Regions from separate parts of the Homo sapiens genome. Here region 1 is linked to region 2. The links are contacts of gene promoters, found by promoter capture Hi-C in blood cells and fetal thymus (Javierre and others, 2016). All regions are on one chromosome and are shown on one strand. Each heading gives the region's core, a stretch centred on a gene start or on the middle of the fragment in contact. The rest is flanking DNA. Distances are from core to core; before and after follow the strand shown. Region 1 holds the start of LOC105374769 (a long non-coding RNA gene). Region 2 holds the start of VPS54 (VPS54 subunit of GARP complex).

The links. The method cuts DNA at HindIII sites, captures the fragments that hold promoters and counts their contacts. A CHiCAGO score of 5 or more calls a contact.
Region 1: a contact is called between a fragment that was not itself captured here and the fragment with the promoter of VPS54 in region 2, in 1 of 17 cell types (non-activated CD4 T cells). The highest score is 5.4, in non-activated CD4 T cells.

What each region holds. Positions count from the first base shown.
Region 1 is chr2:64,328,713-64,333,064 of GRCh38, forward strand. LOC105374769 (a long non-coding RNA gene) reads right to left here and starts at 4,067. Exons shown (of 3, transcript NR_187908.1): 1 at 3,921-4,067; 2 at 3,313-3,507; 3 at 1,769-1,955. The HindIII fragment of the contact is 760 bases long and covers 2,458-3,217 here.
Region 2 is chr2:64,016,193-64,020,744 of GRCh38, forward strand. VPS54 (VPS54 subunit of GARP complex) reads right to left here and starts at 3,236. Exons shown (of 23, transcript NM_016516.3): 1 at 2,746-3,236. RefSeq lists an enhancer at 2,420-2,489 and a silencer at 2,650-3,359. The HindIII fragment of the contact is 5,022 bases long and covers 2,598-4,552 here.

The DNA of each region.
Region 1 (4,352 bases), core at 1,588-4,087, 310 kb after region 2:
AGACTTAATTTAGTAAATTTCAATTACAGAGAGTTACTAAGCTGAAGATCATTTGCATTACATCCTTAATTACTACTTCATTTGTATCTGAGATCATCAATAGAGATTCTTGGGAATGTGTACTTGGAATAAGTGATTGATCCTAATGAGGCCTTTGTTCCTCCCAAGCCTCACTTAGGAAGCTATTTCTTCCCTCTTGCAGAGGCACAGAGTTTGCCAAGCCAGGTGGAGACACCCTAAACTAGAAATGGAGCCTGAGGTTTTCAAACTGGTTTTGCCAGAGGCTGCAAGACTCTAAGCTCTGTCCTGATGTTCCCCAACAGGCATTAATTGCTCTCCCCTGAATGCATTAGCACTGCCAGACTATTACGGATGATTAGCCTCCGTGCCCAGCTACAAACGTCCATCTTTCTTAGTTGGTAGCAGAGGAAATAGCCTTTTAGGACCTTCTCCTTGCACAGGATGGATGCCGTCCTGGACCTTCCTGCTTCTGCGTTTCCCGCCACCTTTAAAGAAAGTGCATCCAGCAGTCCTGGCCACTGGGTCTTTATTGGAAAAGCTGTTTTCCAAGATGATTTAACTCTGAAAAAAAAAATGAAAAGCCCACAAGAACTGAAGACCCTGTGTGCGTGTGTGTGAGTCTGTATTAAGACCCCTTTTATAGGAGACAGACTCCTTTTGGGGAAGAGGGAGAGGTAGGGAAAGGACGAAGTGAGTAAAGGCACTCTCAGCTAAATCCTGCATGCCCATAGTTCCTTCATTGTATGGTACCTCACACCCTTACAGGGCTTTACCGAGCGCTTGTTCATCTGTTAGCTTACAGGTAAGAGAATCATTGTCCTCATTCTCTGAGTGAAGAAACTGATGCTCACAGTAGTTAAGTGACTTTGCCCAAAATTACTGAGCTGAGGAGTGACAGAATGGGGACTGAAGTCCCAGTCTCTTAATTCTGTGCTCCTCGGATACCCCCAAACCACCTCCATGGTCTTCCAGCAGCCTGAACATTTATCCATTTATGGAGGTCAGGGTGTGGGTCCCACTGCAGCCTGCTGCCCCATTTAAACTTTATTTCTGAATCTGTACATTTAAGCAAACCACTTTGTTTCAGAGGCATCCAGAGAGTAGCCTTACTTAACCTTCTTCTGGAGGTGTGTCTATTTGGTGGAGAATGGTGGAGGGGCCTGGAGGGAAGGAAAGGGAGGAGCCAGTAGGGAATTTTCACAGTTTTCCACCAGATGAGGCCAAAGCCCAGAAGTCAGACAAATCCACGATTCTCCTGGCATTCTACAGAGTTGCCAACTCCCTGCCCTGCTCTTTGCTCTCATTATTCCTCTGGGGTGGTTTCCAAGGGTGGAGAAGTGTAGGCTGAGGAAATGTCTGTGTTGAGGGAGGGCAGATGCTGTGAGGAGGGAGGTGTTTACACCAAGCATCGAGCCAGGCCTTGGAGTCACAGGGACAGGCCCAGAGCAGGAAGTGTCCTCCAAGCTAGAAGTCCTCTAGTTCAGAGGTTCTTTGTCTCCTCAAGAACCTCCTGGAACCTCCTGGACATTGTAGCATCCTCTGCAATAGCCACTACCCCTAGCAGTGCAGATGGAGTACTGTAGTGAAATGAACAAATTTTTTGGAGCTCAATAACTCTGGGTTCAAATCCCACTTCTGCTTATGAGCTGAAAGATCTTGAGTAAGTCCTGTAACCTCCCTAAAGATCAGTTGAGATTACCAATATCCACTGCCTTGGCTGTTCTGAGGTTGAAATGAATCACGTTAAACAAATAGCAAATGGTGGCTTTAATTAGTAGAGGGTTAGAGGGCAGCCAGACAGTGGCAGGACAAAAAAGGAGGGCTGCTTGTCCTGTAGGCAGTAGCAAGGAGCGGGAGTGGATTCCACAGTGAAGCAGCTTCCAAGGGCTTTTTGTAAGCAGCCCCTATGCTGGCTCTGGGAGAGCTCTGAGAAACTAGTTTGAAAAGCATAGAAGTCATAAAATAGCACCAGTATTTTTTTTCTAGTGTGAGCAAAAATATTCATGCAGACAAATCCAAGCCAATCTTCTGGGACTAAGACTCTAAATATTACTTGTGAGTCACCCCAGCTTCCTTCCAAGAGAAAGACTCCCCCATCCCCTCACCCAACACCCCCGTCCGTGACACATTAAGATTGTAGCTTTTCAGCTTCTTCCACCAAACTCTCAGTCCCTCATCGTGGGCATGAGGACAGCCCTGTGTGCAGAAAACGTGTTTCTCCATTTCGGTCTCTCTCTTGGTTAAAGCCAATTTCCAAAAAAACCAAAACCACCTTATCAGAGCAAGACCCATGTCAAGCTCCGCAGCAGGCACTAGGTGGCGCTAGATCCCATGTTATTAAGGCAACTCTAAAGCTGCGCCCTTTTCTGGAAAAATGTTTCTGTTGTGAGATCCTCTCTTTCCCAGAGACCTGAGACCACCTCAGTTTATACCACAAGCTTAAAGCGCCACCAGAAGATCGCATACTATCTCAGGAGCCCCAGCTTTGCTGCTAACCTAGTCCTTTTCAGGGTGTGGCTGTGGAAGGAGTTTCTAGACCTGAGGCTGGAGACCCCAAGTCCTTTGCTGAACTGTAAATAATATTAGGAACAAGTAGTCCATTTCAACTTCTGCTCTGCCCTGAGGCGCAGGAAGGAAAACAACTTTTTCCCTTAGGAGGAGGTGAGGAAAAAAAAGAGGCAGATCCTAGAAGCTCCTTTGTGAGAGCAGCCAAGCATCTTCCCTGCCCTCTCCCGCAGAATGGAGGCCCACCCCGACCTCAGGTCATTTCCTTCCATGGCCAGCCCCCTCTCAGGGTGAAACATGATCCTCAGTGCCCCTCTGGAGGTAAGCTGTAGGTTCTTTTTTTCTCCAGGGATCTGAGCTGAGGTTGCCCTGAAATGCCTGTTTAATTTCATTGCCGAGAGCACACCTTCTCATTATTTCGAGAGCTGTGACCCCAAAGCACTTATGAACAATAGCAGCAACTGGCAGTTATAAGCTATTTACAGTTTTCTAAGCGTTATGAGCACTCTTGATGCCTGGAGAGGCAGGTGAGTTGCATTTTCTGTTTGCAGATACAGTGACTGACACCCCAGGGTCTCATTGGAACTGCTGGCACTGATGTTGTCTCTTGGAAATGATGATGATCATTGTTGCTTATTATAATTTTCACTGTTATGTTCCCTTTGATGTGTAAGAGGCCAAACAGAACACAAGCTTTTGGTTAATGGGTTTCCTGTTGGCTGAGTCTATCTGGGCTGAATGTGGAGAACCACTGAAAGGAGGTGAATGCCCTGAGCAGACCTTTACCTTCTTGGCCATGTGAGAGTTTACTGCAGTAGGAAGCTGGGCTCCGCAGAGTAAAGGGCAGGTGTGTGGGGAAGCCTTCCTTGCCCCTTCCACCGTGTGAAGACATAGGGAGACGATGGCCATCTATGAACCAGGAGGCAGGCCCTCCCAAGGCCTGTTGCTGGCACTTTGATCTTGGACTTCCAGCCTCTAGAACTGTGAGAAAAGAGTGCCTGCTGTTTAAGCCACCCAGTCTGTGCTATTTTTGTTAGAGCAGTCCGAATGGACTAAGACAGAAATTGGCATGCCTCTGTGACGTCGCAGAGACATTTAAGCCCTCAAAGAGGCCAGCCCCCTCTCAGGGTTTTTCTGGAAAAATGTTTCTGTTGTGAGATCCTCTCTTTCCCAGAGACCTGAGACTAAATGGTGCAATATAGTTGAGGCAACACAGTATATATAAATAAAAAGAAAATGAATGACTCAGAGAAGTTCTAGCAAGAGTCCAGAAACCCAATATCCTAGCTTGGCCGTGCAGAGGTTCCCTGTAGGGCAAAGAGTGGGGAAGGAGTTGGTGGGGCTGGGAAGAGGGGGAGGAAAGGCCCTGTTAGGTGTATTCCTGTTAGGAATACCTGGTGGCCTTTGCTGGGCTTTACTTTCTGCATAAGAAGTGGTTTTCCCCAAGCTGACGTCCAGGCTCTAGATGTCCAGCTGGGGTGTAATCAAAGGCTTTGGGCACCAAGTGCCTGGCTGATGTTTTGCACCTACCGGATACTCTTAAGTCCAAAGTTGCCAGGCACTGACTGCCTTGAGCATTGTTGAGATTACCACGGAGACAGCCTGTTCCATGGCCCATGAAGTCAGAGAGAGGTCACCTAGGAACCGGTGGGCTTCACCTTCTAGCTCACATCCCCACAAGTTTCTGCTCCTCGGGTCCTCAGAGGCTTGGATGAAGTTCAGGCCCATCACCCCCACCCCATCACAAACTCTCCCCCTTCCCTTCCACCACACTTTGGGAAAGTACTTCTCTTCCCTCATATTTGCTTGAAGAGCTTTTCTTTTAA
Region 2 (4,552 bases), core at 1,986-4,485:
ATTGATTCCGAGCTGACCAAACTACCTCTTGAGGTTACTGAAGCCATTCATGCCTTCTCCAACTTTATGCTGAATACAACCAAAAAGTGTATCAGTTATTTACAACATCACTTTTAATATTGGTGATCAGTTGCTTATTCCCTAGCTCAAATAAAAAATTTTAACATGTACACTGATTTTAAAGGAAAAGCTTTTCAAGAAGCTATGAGCCAAGAAGCATTATATGAAAGGCCCACATTAGGCCAATATTGAGACAGAAAGTAGACTAGTGGTTGCCTAAAGCTGGGGGTGGGGTGAAGAGAATGGGGAGTAACTGTTAATGGATAAAGGTTTTTTGAGGGAATGATGAAAATGTTCTAAAATTAGATTATGGTGATGGTTGCACAATTATTTAATCTAAAAACCACTGAATTGTATATTTTTTTTTTTTTTTTGAGATGGAGTCTCGTTCTGTCACCCAGCCTGTAGTGCAGTGGTGCTATCTTGGCTCACTGCAACCTCCACCTCCCAGGTTCAAGCGATTCGCCAGCCTCAGCCTCCCCAGTAGCTGGGATGACAGGCGCTCACCCCCATGCCCGGCTAATTTATATATTTTTAGTACAGACGGGGTTTCACCATGTTGGCTAGGCTGGTCTCGAACTCTGGACCTCAGGTGATCTACCTGACTAGGCTTCCCAAAGTGGTGGGATTACAGGTGTGAGCCACTGAACCCGGCCAAGTGGTACACCTTAAATGGGTGTATTTTATGGTATGTTAATTTTATCTCAATAAAGCAGTTTTTAAAAAGCAAAGAGCAGGAAAGAGGAATTGTAATTAACTTTTGTTGATTAAAAAAAAAAAAAAAAAAAAAAAGAGTGTGATGGGCCGGGGCCGGGGCGGTGGCTCACACCTCTAATCCCAGCACTCTGGGAGGCCGAGGCCGGTGGATCACAAGGTCAGGAGTTCAAGACCAGCCTGGCTAATATGGTGAAACCCCCGTCTCTACTAAAAATACAAAAATCAGCCAGGCGTGGGGGCGCCTGTAGTCCCAGCTACTCAGGAGACTGAGGCAGAAGAATCACTTGAAGCCGGTAGGCGGAGGTTGCGGTGAGCCAAGATAGCGCCACTGCACTCCAGCCTGGGCAACAGAGCAAGACCCCGTCTCAAAAAAAAAAAAAGAAAAGAAACAAAAAAAAAGAGTGTGATGAAGAAATTCTGCAAAATTTGCCGTTTCATGGGCTATATAGGAATTGACTTTAATTCTGACACAAAAAATTATCTTATCCAGAAATCAATTTTAACTTTCCAGAAAATATAAGCATATGCAAAAGTAATCACCTTTTCCTAGTAAACTTTTAGTATTAAATTCTAATTTCAAAAACACTTCAGAAAGCCAAATGCTGTAGTAACAATACTTCTACAAGAACAAAATATACGAATATCAACAACAAAACAGTCTTTACGATTTGGTTGTGATGCATTCTTTATTTTAAAAACCCATTAAAACATTTTTCATTTATTTAAAAAAGTGATCCTCAGACTGCCTCTTAGATTGGTAGTGTAATAATTCTTAAGTTATCAGAACATAATTTAAAAATAGCCAAATTACAATAAAATCGCAAACATCTACTGTCGTCCCAAACAACTATCAATTACAGCTACTGGTAACCTATCATAAGCAATGATGAGCACTACGAACCATCAACATCCATTTCTAGGAAATCCGATTCTGACTACACTACAAATACAGTCAAACAAATCCCATCATTCCCTCTGTTCCATCATTTAACTGCTTAGAAATCATTTAGGCTCTGAAGGTGCTTTTTCCAATTAGAACTCCCCTTCGGATTTATAAAAGTGAATGTACATCAAAATCTGCAGTTTAGGTTATCGCAGTAATATTTCTCGGTATACTACAAGTAATTTATCACGGTATTACTTAAAGGCGTTTAGTATTAAGACCGCCCTTGATTTGACAAATCAGAAATACAGCCAATTAAAAACAAAAACAGTCCAAACAATTTAATTCTTCGAAAGAGCCTCAATAAAGACCAAAAAATAAAGCTGGTTAGAAGAAAAAAATTTTTTTTTGAAACGCCTGTCAGTCAAAATGCTAAAAATACCATCTTGAACTCAACACATGAACAGACCAAACGGCTAATTATAATTGGCAAGCCAAAGTTCCCAAGTCAACGACGGGAGAGCAGAAACGGCAGAGAGGGCCTGCCCTTTCTGTCTATGCAGAGATGGAAGGAGGCAGAACTGAAGAAAATTATTGCACAAATTATTTCAAGCTACATTGCCAAAATGCAAAATACTGAGTAACTCTTTGGGTTAGCCTTCCCCGGAGAGAAAAACAAACAAATGTTTTAACGATTCCAGTAGAATCCAATAGGACTAAGGGCCTGGCTGGAAAAAGAAAAGGAAAGTTTGGGGGCAGCGTCTAAGGGGGTGATGGAAGTTCCAGAGCTGGGATCCCGGAAAGATAAGAGAGGGGCAAGAGCGGCGTTTGCGGTCGCTGACAGGAGGCAGGGAACACAGCTGCCAGCCCCGATCCCGGAGGGAGAGTGAAAAGGAAAAAAAAAAAAAAAAAAGGAAGTGGCGGAGAGGAGCATGGAAGCTTCAGTGCCGGTCAGCTGTGACCGAAACTCGGTCCGTTTGGGGCTGGGGAGGAGAGCCGAGGGGGTGGGGTCTCGGTCCCTCTCTCCGCTGTAGGTCGGGGTGAGAGTGGGCTGAGACGCGCGGGGGGCCGCGGGGCACACCTACCTGCGGGTCCCGGGGCAGCCGCCCTGAGCGAGGCCTAGTGCATCGCCGCCGCCTCCAGCCCTCCACGTCGCACCGAGGCTGCTGCTCCACGGCCGCCGCCGCCCGGCGCCCGGCCGGGCCCGAGCCCGGGTTCCCGCCCCCGCCCCGCGCCCGCTGGCCAGTCGGCCCGGGGAGCACAGGGCCGCCCTCTCGAGCCCAGCTTCACTCAGGGGTGAGAGGTGGCAGCGGCGGCTCCCTCACGTCTCTCCCGGGTGTCCTGTCAGCCAGCAGTTTCCCCCGGGTCCGCAGCGCCGCCTCCGCCGCTGCTGCCACCGCCTCTCCCACATCCCCGGCCTCCAGGGGAGCCGCCGCCGCCGCGCCACGACCACTGCCTCTAGCGCTTCTGCTCCCGACTCCACTGCTTTCCCTCACCCCGCCGGCCCAGCCGGCTCGGCCCGGTCGGGTGCGGGGAGACAGCGCCGGAGGCCGCCGCAGCCCCCAGCCCACAATCCACCGCGCGGCTCCGCCGGGGCGGGAGGGCCGCGGCCCGGGCCGGGGGGAGCGCCCGCCGCCTGGGGAAAGCGGCCTTGGCGCAGGCCGGCGTGCCCGTCGCAGGCGCAGCCAGAGTTCTCTCGGGGCGGGGAATACACCGCGTGGCTCCCCTGCGCCTCCTCTAATAGTCCTACACGCAGACAAATCCACGCTGAATTCCACTTTCCCCACCACCCTTCCCCCCAACTCCCAGTTTTCAGGAACACCCAGAAAACCTCCTGCCGCCTTCCCCGGGACTGGGACGCGACCCCTCCAGCGTAGCCCTCGCCACCCCCAAGACCAACCGACTCGAAACATCCCTAAATCACCCGGGACCTATTAAAGCAAATACTTCCACGAGATTCCTCCTCTCCCCCACCCCCTCGAAGTAAATGCTTTTCAGCTGTTCCCTAGTAAATGCCCTTCCAAAGGTTAAAGGTCACCCCTCCGCAACAACCCAGTTCTCTCTATTGAGGCCTTTTCCCCATCCAGTCCTCCCCTCCAAGTCTTCCCCAAGTTCCAGGCCTTCCTCCCAGACACTGTAATCAGTTATTCCTGTTACTTGACTGAGATACTTGGAGTGTGTATGATAATTAATACCTTCTAATTCTGACTTCAGCCTGGTTTCACAGGACTTGCAACTTTAAACCAATAAAACACAGTCCACAAGAAAGGGAAGGTCTTAGTATATAAATATAAAGACACACACACACACACACACACACATATATTTTAGGAAGAAAAAGATCCTCAATCCTTTGAGTGCTTGTGACTTAATTTTGGGAAGATTTTATTCAATGTTGAAATTCTTGCCTAAAAATAAATTTCAAGCATTTATAAGACATAGTATGTTTTAACAAATCAAAAGTGAAAATGTAACTCTTATAGTTGGGGGGTTGAAAAAAATGTTGATCCAAGTTTCACTTCTAAGAAGTCACTTTGAAAACTGCAAACATAACTTTTATGAAATAATATTTTCCCCACCAAAGAGCTAAAGTTGGGGAAAGAGGACAAAAAGTAAGGAAGCATCAAAAATAGTTGAGAGAAAACTCTTACATTATATTTTTCTAAGTTCAATCCTCTAAAATTATGTAAGAAACAAAGTGAGAAAATCATTCCCCAATATGAAATAAATTTAACTGTAAAAGAGTGAAGTCCTCTTAAATCCCTGATCACTTATAAAACCAGATGAGTTTACATAGAAGCAGAGTAGAATGGTGGTTACCAAAGACTGGGGGGTAAAGGGTGATGAGGAAAGGGGAAATGTGAGTCAAAGGGTATAAAGTTTCAGGTAGGA